Linked DNA regions of Homo sapiens: all the other regions are linked to region 2. Evidence: promoter capture Hi-C in 16 types of primary human blood cells and fetal thymus (Javierre and others, 2016). All regions are on one chromosome and are shown on one strand. The core of a region is centred on a gene start or on the middle of the fragment in contact, and the rest is flanking DNA. Distances in the headings are between cores, read along the strand shown. Region 1 holds the start of BARD1 (BRCA1 associated RING domain 1). Region 2 holds the start of RPE (ribulose-5-phosphate-3-epimerase). Region 3 overlaps FASTKD2 (FAST kinase domains 2). Region 4 overlaps NRP2 (neuropilin 2).

Region 1 (2,700 bases), core at 193-2,692, 4.8 Mb before region 2:
TCCAGGTTCCAAAGTGAATCTTTGCGCAAAAGCCATGAGGCAGCAAGGTGCAGGGGCTTTTAATGACCTAAGGGAACGCACTGTGGGGTTGGGACCATGATGGCCAGAGGAGGTTTTGACAAGAGGCTAGTCAAAGAGCAGAGAAAAACTTTAAGGAGTTTTAAGAAAGGGAAGTGCCACGATGAGTTTTGTGTTTGGAAATGTTTTAGGCGGCCACACCGCAGTCTCGGGACTGGCTGGGACCTGGATAGACACTTGGATATCAGCTAGAAAGCTACGACAGGAAACCAGGCGAGGACGAGGCAACTGGGGATGTTGTGGAGCAGAGACGGAGAGAAAATGGGTGCATTCGAGACAAGTTAGGGGGAAAAAATGCAAGGACTTGGAAATGAACTTGGGGCGCGGCAGGAAGGCATGACGGGTTGCTCTGTAGGTCTTATCTGTAAATTACGGCGATCAGTGAAAGATCTGGAGGAGGAAGGTGGACACACTCTCTAACAAAAAAAACCCTTTTTGAAATTTTATACCAATATTTTAAAAGTAAACCAGATCTTTTCAGACATGCCTTTGAGCTGATATTTGTTAACTAGTTAGAATTAGAAACTTTCCTTATTTTTACTCAGTTACAATATACGCCACAGCTGAGGTGAGAGGAAAGAAAAGGTTGCTTTCTTAGGAACAAAGAGTGGTACCTTCAGTATCGTGGGCAAAGCTTTTCCAAGTCCAACAGCAGTCAAAACAGCGCTTTTTATAAATAACACTCAGCTAAAAGTTTCTGGGTTTGTGATTGTTCCAACGGTTAAGCTCGGATGAGGGTCCCTGGAGTCGTAGCTCCCGGGAAACGTCGACTGGCTTTCCACCTGGACTTCATCCGTCCAGGCAGCCCAGAGGGGCTTCAGGCCCCGCCCGCTCTCCTGCCAACTACAGCCTCGCGACTGCGCTCAGCCTTCAGGCCCCGCCCCTTCGGTCAAGCGGCGTGCTCTCACTGCACGGCGCCTGGGCCCCGCGCGCCGGGACCTCGGTTTCAGCCGTCCTGTCCTGCCCCGAGGCCCCTAGGCCCCGCCCCTGGGCCCCGCGCGCCAGGACTTCGGTTTCGACCGTCCTGTCCCGCCCCGAGGCTCCTAGGCCCCGCCCCCTCTGTCCCCGGCGTGTTCTCGCGGCTCCGCCCCTAGGACCCGCGCGCCGGGACTTTGGCAAGTTTCAGCCGTCCGGCCCCGCCCCCTCGGTCCCACGGCTCTCGCGGCCCCTCCCCTAAGTCCCACACGCCGGGACTTTGGCAAGTTTCAGCCTCCAGCCCCACCCCTAGGTCCCGCCCACTCGGCCAGCGGCTGGCTCTCGCGGCCCCGCCCCTGTGCCCTGCGAGTCCCTATTTTGGGAGCATTGCGGCCGCCGTGCCCCGCCCCTCCCCGCGCGCCCCGCCCCTCTGGCGGCCCGCCGTCCCAGACGCGGGAAGAGCTTGGCCGGTTTCGAGTCGCTGGCCTGCAGCTTCCCTGTGGTTTCCCGAGGCTTCCTTGCTTCCCGCTCTGCGAGGAGCCTTTCATCCGAAGGCGGGACGATGCCGGATAATCGGCAGCCGAGGAACCGGCAGCCGAGGATCCGCTCCGGGAACGAGCCTCGTTCCGCGCCCGCCATGGAACCGGATGGTCGCGGTGCCTGGGCCCACAGTCGCGCCGCGCTCGACCGCCTGGAGAAGCTGCTGCGCTGCTCGCGTTGGTAAAGACGGAGCTTCTTGGGGGTGGCTGCGAGGGCACGGGTCGCACAGTTTCTGGGGGCGGCAGAATCTTTTCAAATCTTCCGTTTCCTCCTTCCGTTCCCGCGCTGCAGTCGGGTCGGCGTGCGGTTAGCACCTGCCGGGGGATATAGTATTAACAACTTCTGCTTCTCATTCACTTTATTTTTGGGCGACTTACCGGCCTCCCCTTGCCCTGAATCCAACTGAAACGGTAGTTTTTGAACTTCAGCGGGCTGAAGAACCGTCTGGAGGTGTGGCTAAAAAAATGTTCATCCCGGTCGCGCCTCCAGAGTTTGAATCGGGCTGGGGTGGGGCTGAGGCTTCTGCATTTTTTACCCGGCCCTGGATTACCCCGCTGCTTTCCGGGAGCTGTGGCGAATTGGGCTGGCGGGCCGCCCCGGAGACCCTCTAAATTAGAAGCAGCTGCCACTCTAAGTTAAACTGGCCTTTTTGACATTTTCTCCGTGCCAGCTTTTTCGAGTGAGATGGGATGGAGCATCGGATATCTACCATAGTTGTAGATTGAAGATGGCACGGAATTTCTCATTTTCTTAGTTTGCTCAAAAGACTGTATGTCTGGTGTCCCCGCTCTTAGTGATGCTGTTTATTGTTTTCCTTCATGCTGTCACATTATGGGAGTCCTCTCAGGGTTTTCATTCCGTCCAAAGACATTTTCATGAGTGTTACTTCTTGCTTTTTTTCGTGTAGCTCTTTCTAGTATACAAACCAAGAAGGTTTGTAAAACCCAAGAAAGGTTTGTCTCATTTTCATTTCTTCTGAAAAGCATTTTTATTGAGCACTTGCTGTGTGTACAGCTAAGTATTTCTGTATGAAGATCACTGGCAGTTTTTTTGTTATTTGTAGCTGTCAAAAGTTTATATCCTTTTTGGACTTTTTTCCCCTTTGATTTCTAACTTGCAGAACTTAAGTTACCTAGTTGCATAAAGTATAAGTAACACAACTTTTTC
Region 2 (2,782 bases), core at 272-2,771:
CTCTAGGTATTTTCTCAGGCACAAAAATGTAGCTACTTACCTTTGAGGTAGACACTCAGGGTATTATTACCTGTGACAGTTTAGGGCTTTCAAGCAAAGATGTCAAAAATAAAGTATATAAGTATAATTACATATAATGGCCAATTAAAAGCCAACCTTTGTGAGAGGTAATATTTACTAAACTTTTTACACATTTGGCCTATTATTTTTAGTACTCTATGGTCAAAGTTTTGTCATTATCAGTTGGGTGGACTCCTAAGGTAACTGGGTAAAATGCCAAAGAGAAACAATACATTTAACCACATAGAGCAATGGAAGATAAAACTCTTCAAAGCCAGATTAACATTAAAAAGAAAAGGAAATCATCACCTTTAGAAAATAACACCAATTTGCAAACTGAATGAGGGAACACAGGGTTTTTACCTATTTAAAATAAATTTATTTTTCCATCCCCACTCAAGATAATGGTATTTATGATTTTTATAGTCAGTTAACAGTGGGGCTCAGAGAACTACTTGGCAAACCTAGGAAGAGCCAAGTTGCAAGTCTGTCACAATCTTCTGTAATCTTGAGGGAGTCTTACTGCTTTCTCTGGGGTTGTTTCCTCATTCTGTAACCAACTTCAGAAACTAATATCCTGACTCCAAACAATATTATGTGCTGTAACTACGGTGCTTAAAAATTACTTACAAAAAACTGACCTCCCTGAAGAGCAGGGTGCCTGAAGAGAAAATAGACAGGAAAATCAGAATTGTAATAATGATGTAATTAACAATTATAGAGAACTTAATATACGCCAGGCACTGTAAACTTCTCATGTACTCGCTCATTTCATCTTCCAAGATGCCTAAGCGGTAGGTTCTGTTAGTAGTTCCATTTTTCAAATTATGAAACTGAAGCTCAATGAGGTTAGTGGCTTGTCCAAGGTAACCCAGCAAGTGGCAGAACTCGGGAACCTAACCGCAGGTGCCAACTTAAATCGTTAGAGAAGTCTGTTTCCCCAGCTTTGCCACTAACTAGCTATATGAGCTTGGGCAAGTCATGCTTCTCCCCTTGGGCCTCAGTTTCTCTAGCTGAAAGTGAAGAAATGTCCTAAAGATTTAGGTCGCTTCCGGGTCCTAAGTGATGGAAGACCACACGTTACGTGGGGGGAGGGGAGGAACTGAGGTTTGGGACCCGGCCGCAACCCAGGATACCGCGTCGGTTCTGCTCCTGCTAGAGCCTCCAGGGCTCCTACCCCACACCCCTTCTAGCATCGCGTTCAGAGTGAGGCGCTCGGTGGTACAGGGACGCGGTACATCCAACAAGCAGTCAATAAAGGTGCACTGATCCGCCCCGCCGCGCGGCAAGCCCGACCGGAGCCCGGAGGAGTTACCCGTCCATTACGTCCAGGTGCAGATAATCGGCCCCAGAGTCTAGCATCCGGAGGCACTCGGCCCCTAAATTGGCCAGGTCGCTGTTGAGGATGGACGGGCCAATCTTGCAGCCCGACGCCATACCGCTGGCTCCCAAAAGCAAGTTACCCACGAGTCCCCGGCAAGGCTAGAGCGTCACCCCGATTGGGCGCGCAGTTTTGGCCCCGCCCCTTCTCCGTACAGGCTTCCGGATTCTACCGGAAGCAGCCACTCTGCGGTGAGGAAGTCCCGCCTCCTCCTGGGGTGGGGCGCTGTCAGCCGTCCGCCTGGGGCGGGGCGGGGCACACGGGCCTCGTACACCTGATTTTGACCTTCCTTCTTGTGCTGTTTGGATCTTAACGTCCTCGCAGTACTCAAGGCGTTTCTTAACCTTTTTTCACTTTGCTTCTCCTGCAGTTCCCTCTCCTCGGCTCTTGACTTAACATCACTTTTTGTTTCTCCACCCTTTGCATATGCCTTTCTTTCCTCTCCAGCGCCTATGCTGGCCCTTTAAAACAACAATTAAAAACCTTTCTTCCTCGTATTTCTCCTAGAGCTCTTCTTTTGAGCTGGAGGAACCCTGGCTCTGCCAGATACTAGCTGGGTGACCTGGCAAATCACTTCTTAACTTCGGTTTTCTCATCTGTAAAGACAGTGCCCAGCTTTAGGGTTGTATTAAATGAGTGAAGCCAGGTAATGCGCCCAGCAGGATGCCTGGTGCTCAGTACAAAATGGTAGTTATTATTATATTACCCTCTTTTTCTGCCTTTGCAGTTCCTCCTTACCTTTTTTGTTTTTCCCTCTGTTGAGGCTCAGAAAATGATAGCCCAAAGTGAAGGCCTCAGACGCAACAGTGTTTCTCTGACTTCCTGCCCTGCTCTCTTCTCAGTCTCATTCTAGGAGGCAGGTCATAGAAACTGGAGCCCATCTTCCCTAAGAAGAGTCATTGAAACCGGAACCCCCTTTCCCTGAAGCCAGACACAAAACCCAAAAGCATTACTCTAACTTTCCTCCACCTTTCTGTGTAAAAACTGGCCATAAATTATTTGACCCATCTCAACTGTAGGTTATAAAACTCCTCTTCTAGAGAAGGTTCTATCCCATATCCAGGAGGAGGGAATGCTGCACAGAGAGGCCAGGAATCTAAACTAGACTGGCCAAGGCCAGGTCAGTCTATTAGCATTAGATCGCCTATTTTGTCCAATCGTATTTCTACATGGCTGTCTATACTTTGTTGAACCTAAGTATAAAAATGGGTAATCACCCCTGTACCTTTGGGTCTTCATTCTGAAGGCTCCTGTGTCAGGTAAAACTATAATCAAATAAGTTTTTATGCCTTTTCTCCTGTTAATCTTCTTTCTGTCAGTGATTTTCAGCAAACCTTTGGA
Region 3 (2,779 bases), core at 125-2,624, 3.2 Mb after region 2:
ATTCCAGATATATGAGGAACAAAGAAAACCACATGAAGAAAGCATAAGAGAGTTCTCACCTGAATCCCGTTCGTAGAACATGAACATTCTTGCATGGTTCCATTGCCTCTAAAACAGTTGACAAAACTGAAAGGCATATCTCATCACACTCATTGATACGTTCCTATTGAAATATAATTACAAAAACACTACAGGTGATGAGCCCATAGTAAACTATCTTACCCAAGCAAAACCACTGAACTGATGTACTGAATAAAACGATTGAGTATCAAACCAACAATTCCTACAGTCAGTCCACAATAAACAGCATCTTTGGGAAATAAAAAGTCATACTTACTGAATTTTCCAGCTGACTGATACACATCCTTTTATGCATCAACACTTTTTTACCTTCACCATTATCACTGAAAACACATTTGATATTTATTATATTCCACTGCTTCTGAAACAACTTTTATTAAACATTATTTTTACCTCTTCTTGGAATTCAAGGTCATTACAAAGGCAAAAACAGTTAAAGTGCAGGAATATAAGAACTACTGAAGTACAGAAGGTAACTAGCCCATCTCTAAAGATCCTTAAATGGTTGTGCCTTTACAATTTCCCTAGATCCTTTCCTGGGTATCAAGCTGAAACTTTACTTGTGAGTCTTCTGATTCACATCTCCTGCCACATTCTACCACTGCTATCTGGGTCTCAAGGGAAGCCTACACCCCACAGATTCTTCTTTCAGGTCCCTTTACTTAGGGTACTAAGTTTGATTCCAGAAATAGTGGGCATAATCTGGAAAGTGAATAGTAACAACACAGCTTAACTAGCAGTACTCTACAGTTTAATCACTAGTCTATAAACCTCACAAAAAATCACATCTGAGGAAACTTAGCCTGAAGAGAGAGAAGCTCTTTTGCTAAAATTACATAACCAATGAATCACAAAGTCTTAAGTCAGAACCAGGTAATAATAAGAAATGGTTATGGTTAGAAGAAAAAAAAGGTTTCTTTCCTATGAAAGGGTTTCCTTAACAATTTTACAGCATTCCATCCATATCTACTATGAAAGAAAAGACCACTTGTCTATGTGTTTGAAGGGCAAATTCATTGATGGCACACTGTCCTTTCACCTCTAAAATGTCTTTACATTATTCCAACAGGTCAGTGAGACACCATCATCCATACAGATGTTTTGACTACAAAAATCTACTACTCATACCTCACCAACACAGATGTCATCCCGATGCAAATATCTGTCCAAAATCTAGTAAGAGCATCACTGACCAGGTAAGGTGATTTATTAGTCACTTTTAAATAACTACATAGGAACTAATACACAGCCTACAAATAAACAGGGATATTCTGTGGTTTAAACAAATACACACACATACACTAAATAAAAATTAGTTATTCCTTAAGGACATATGGAAATCACAGTAATGTAAAAAGTTAAAAACTTTCCCATAGCTATGAACCCAATTATTGAATTCTATAGCAAGACAGGATATATGCCAGATTATCCCCAAGGAATTCCTGTCTTTTAAAAAATTATTATTATTATTTTCAGACAGGGTCTGGCTCTGTCACCCAGGCTGGAGTGCAGTGGCACGATCATGGCTCACGGCAGCTTCGACCTCCCAGGCTCAAGTGATATTCCCACCTCAGCCTCCCAAGTAGCTGGGACCACAGGCAAGTACATCACACCCAGCTAATTTTTGTATTTTTTGTAGAGATGGAGTCTCCCTTTGTTGCCCAGGCTGGTCGCAAACTCCTGGGCTCAAGAGATCCTCCTGCCTTGGCCTCCCAAAGTGCTGGGATTACAGGTGTGAGCCACCACACCTGGCTAAGAAATTACTTCATTATCACTGAGTTTATACGTCAGAAGTGTACACTCTTAAAACATAAATGATTAACAAGCTAATCCTTCCTTCCTTACATTTGGCACCATTTCAGTGACATTAAACAGGACACTGACATTCTTGCTTTAGACTAAAAATGGCTCCCTCCATCCAATTTTAACCTTCTTCCAATACATCTTCCACTCATTCAGTGATCTAAAATACAAATTTGAGCACGTCAACCCATTGCTTAAAATTCTTCAACGGATTCCCATTGCCTACAGGATAAATGCATACTCCTTAGCTAGCCGTAAGAGGCTCTTTATGATTTGGTTCCTATTTTTCTGGCCTCTTGTTCTGCCCCTAAGCCTCTTGCCCCTCACTCCTCTCCTTTGATCGCCATGTACAAAACTTGTTCCCACCCACTCAAACATACAACTCCATCATTCTGTGCTTCAGCTACACCAAACTACTTTCAGCTCTTCAAATTTGCCAAACTTTTCCTCTGGGAACAGTAGGGCATGCAATCCTCTCTACTTGAAACACCATCCCCTTCACTATCATTCTGCTCATCAGTTTAGGTATCATCTACTGGGCCTGAATTCCAATTCTACCATGGACTAAATTCTCTTCCTTCCCCTTCCCTTCTCTCCTTCTTCAACTACCCAGGCTTTCTTTGTATATCTTGCATCTCTCCTCACTTTAGCTTCTTCACCACTACTCAACCCTGGGGATGGTAAATGTGGAAGGCTTTCATAAATTTCCATAGCAAAAGGAAGAAAATAGCTAACTTAAGGCCTCTAAATCATATAATATATATGCAGAAATAAATATAAAGGAAACTACCATTCCATTTGATAGTCTCTTTTAAGAAGGCTACATATCTATATCCCTTCATTCTTTCAAAATATTCTAAATCAAGTAAATGCATGTTTAAATCTCCTTTTTATT
Region 4 (3,004 bases), core at 425-2,924, 4.3 Mb after region 2:
CATTTGGGGAAGGAAACAGAAGAATAATTTTGAGGTCTCTCCAAAAACCAAAGGAGAAAAAAAAGTAATATAATATTGTCTTCATTTATTTTGATTAACTGAAGCTTATGTTGAAACATTAATGGCTCCCCATTGGTTAGCAAGTGAAACCCAAACCTCTTTGCCTAGCAATTTGGGCCTTGAATTGAGCCCAAGCTATTATTTATAATCTTGTTTGCAATTATTTCCCACCATACATTCTAAACTGCAGCTTCTGAGTGTTCCCCAAACCAACCCAGCATCCATTTCTCTACTCACACCTTCCCCTTCCCCTGGTATGCCCTTCCCTGCTCTAAATCCCACCTACTCTCTCACTCCAGGCTGCCTCTGCCCTTTCTCCTCTCCCATACTGGGAGTGGTCTTTCTCCTCTGTGCATCTGAGAGGCTGAAGCTCTTTAGCATCTTCTGAGATGTGTGAGAGTTCTGGAGGGCCTCATCCAGTCTACTGAGCCACCAGCAACTTGAGGTCATGACTCCTTGCTGATCCATCTTTGGCAAGTCTTACAGGATCAAACCAGAACCTTTCCCAAAAGTCAGACTCATCAAGATTTGGTGAATTAACCAATTAAGAAGTGACCAAAGGAACATCAAAGGTATCACTAGATAGGACAGACTCTGAGAGTTCTATCAGAAATTATTCTGCGGCCACAGCTACTGCGCTTCCCTCCCCACCCCCAGCTGTTATTAAGTGCAAATGTTTCTTAGTGGTGAATTGAGAGTTTGAATAACTTGTCTGGGATAATAATACCTAGTCACAAGTAGGTCAAGGTAGAGTTAGTGCGAACTATGTCTCCTAGAACACCCTAAAGCAGATAATAATGATAAATTTCAAAGCACATTCACATTTTATTTTATTTTATTTTATTTTTTGAGACAGAGTCTCACTCTGTCACCCAGGCTAGAGTGCAGTGGCACAATCTCGGCCCACTGCAACCTCCGCCTCCCAAGTTTAAGCGATTTTCCTGCCTTAGCCTCCCAAGTAGCTGGGATTATAGGCGCCCACCACCATACCCAGCTATTGTGTGTGTGTGTGTGTGTGTGTGTGTGTGTGTGTGTGTGTGTGTGTGTGTATTTTTAGCAGGGATGGGGTCTTGCTATGTTGGCCAGGCTGGTCTCGAACTCCTGACCTCAGGTGATCTGCCCACCTCCTCCTCCCAAAGTGCTGGGATTACAGGCATGAGCCACCATGCTCGGCCATTTTATTTTTAATACTAGTAAAATTAATTTATCTCAGGGGTTTTGTCCCCTTCACTCCAACCCCCACACTTCCAAAGGCAACTTTAAATATTGGTTATCTGTACCACCAGGAAGATGCTGACTATTACTTCATCACTAAGCCATTTGTTGGTATTGGATTTTCTTGTGCTTGGTTTCAGCAAACCTCTCTTTACTCAACCCCCTCCTCATTTTCCTTTCTGTAGCCCCTAGAATGCCTTTGGGGAACATCTGTTTTATTTTTTCTCCTGTATCCAAACAATTATTATTAGCATTCGGTCTAGTAATTTGCAATTCCCATTATCTTCTCTGCTGAAAGACTCGCCAGAACTGGTTACTGGTTATCGCAGGATTTGTGGAGGCGGGAGCAGGGTACCACGGCCACGTGCACTCAGCTGGCCGGCAGCCTCGTGCACTCTGTGCTACCGAGAGCTTCTCTTTTGTTATTCCCAGCCCCTCCTTTTTTTCTGGATTAGATAATGACTCCTTTATGAAGACCCAGAGGGAAATGGGATTATTAAGACCCTTGCTGGGTAAAAGCTATTTTGTCTTTATGATGACTTTTTTGAGTTCAGCTGCTGAAGGGCCTTAGTGCCAGAGTAGAAGTTATTACACATTCGGGAGAGCGCCTTAAACACGGTGTTCCCTGCTGAGCACACTCTCAGTGTTGAAGGATGGAAGGGGAGGAAAAGGAAAGGAAATGAGAGATTAAAAAGAAAATAGGAGGTAAGAATACTGAAAACAGAGGAAGAAGGAGGGAAAAAATGCAAGGGAGACATAAATCTAAGATAAGAACTCAGCAGAGAATATTCTCTGAAGAAGAGCATGGCGAGAGATAATATGGTGCTTACAAAACACAGAGGTTTGGTGGTGGAAGAACTGAGAATAAGAATTATTTTTTAAATCTCATAAAAATCAACTTACCACAATGGTTATAGTGTGCTTTCTACGATCACGAGATTCCACTAACCCCACTGAAACAGTTTTAAAGATTCAGTGACTTCAGAATGGGCTTCATATGTGCCAAACAGTATTCTACATAATCTGACATAGCCCAACAACCCTATGAAGTAGGTATTGTTACCAAACACATTTACAGACAAGGAAACCGAGGCACATAGACTAAGTATCTGATCACACAGGATACTGGGATCACAGAGCCAGCAAGTGGCTGAGCTAGATTCTAAACCCAGGCAGTCTAGTTCCCATGTTTCAGAAGCTGGGAAGGCCAGGGATGATCCCCACAAAACTTCTCAGTGGCAAACCTACTTGGTAGCATTTAGGGAAAGACAAATATTTTGCCTGTTTGAAAACCCCCTTTTCTCTGCCTGTGCCAGTACTCTGTCTGTGTGAACAATGAGAGATGTGTTTGAGGCTGGGGTGTGAGTGGGCTGGAAGCACTTAACACCTTCTCCACTCCCTGTACACACAGGCACTCAGCTCCTTGTCATCCTGGCCCTCTTTCCTGTGTTCTGGAAACCCTAGGCATGGGGCCGGGGAGGGCGGGTGATGGATAGGAAGTTCAGGTCTGAAACCATGTATCACAACATCGAAGGGTTTTTTTGTTTTTTTTGTTTTGTTTTGTTTTTTTGTTTTTTGCCAACTCCTATTTCTCTCCTTTCTTCTCAATCCTACTCTTCTCTATCCTAAATGCCACATTGTTATTGTTCTACTGGATAGGAGTAGCATTTTCAGAAATGGGGGATTTATTTTTATAGCACAGCTGGTCTGCCAAAGGTCACATAATTTG

Evidence for each region. Contacts are between HindIII fragments. The CHiCAGO score rates a contact against its expected background, and 5 or more counts as called.
Region 1: the fragment with the promoter of BARD1 here is called in contact with the fragment with the promoter of RPE in region 2 in 5 of 17 cell types (total CD8 T cells, non-activated CD4 T cells, naive CD4 T cells and 2 more); the score reaches 14.0 in total CD8 T cells.
Region 3: a fragment that was not itself captured here is called in contact with the fragment with the promoter of RPE in region 2 in 1 of 17 cell types (monocytes); the score reaches 8.7 in monocytes.
Region 4: a fragment that was not itself captured here is called in contact with the fragment with the promoter of RPE in region 2 in 1 of 17 cell types (M0 macrophages); the score reaches 8.4 in M0 macrophages.

Annotation. Positions count from the first base shown.
Region 1 is chr2:214,808,425-214,811,124 of GRCh38, reverse strand. It overlaps BARD1 (BRCA1 associated RING domain 1), which reads left to right and starts at 1,442. Exons shown (of 11, transcript NM_000465.4): 1 at 1,442-1,713. The coding sequence starts at 1,556. It overlaps SNHG31 (small nucleolar RNA host gene 31), which reads right to left and starts at 896. Exons shown (of 4, transcript NR_110292.1): 1 at 693-896. RefSeq lists a silencer at 964-1,533 and enhancers at 2,084-2,163, 2,454-2,503. The HindIII fragment of the contact is 4,673 bases long and covers 715-2,700 here.
Region 2 is chr2:210,001,377-210,004,158 of GRCh38, reverse strand. RPE (ribulose-5-phosphate-3-epimerase) reads right to left here and starts at 1,521. Exons shown (of 6, transcript NM_199229.3): 1 at 1,376-1,521. The coding sequence starts at 1,497. RefSeq lists enhancers at 1,253-1,422, 1,463-1,512. The HindIII fragment of the contact is 5,690 bases long and covers 1-2,782 here.
Region 3 is chr2:206,767,475-206,770,253 of GRCh38, reverse strand. FASTKD2 (FAST kinase domains 2) reads right to left here. Exons shown (of 12, transcript NM_001136193.2): 3 at 60-163. Among named protein-coding and RNA genes, the nearest start is that of FASTKD2, 3.3 kb to the right of the region's middle. RefSeq lists an enhancer at 1-555. The HindIII fragment of the contact is 2,931 bases long and covers 1-2,779 here.
Region 4 is chr2:205,688,685-205,691,688 of GRCh38, reverse strand. The region is part of intron 1 of NRP2 (neuropilin 2); the gene reads right to left. Among named protein-coding and RNA genes, the nearest start is that of NRP2, 7.7 kb to the right of the region's middle. The HindIII fragment of the contact is 3,135 bases long and covers 107-3,004 here.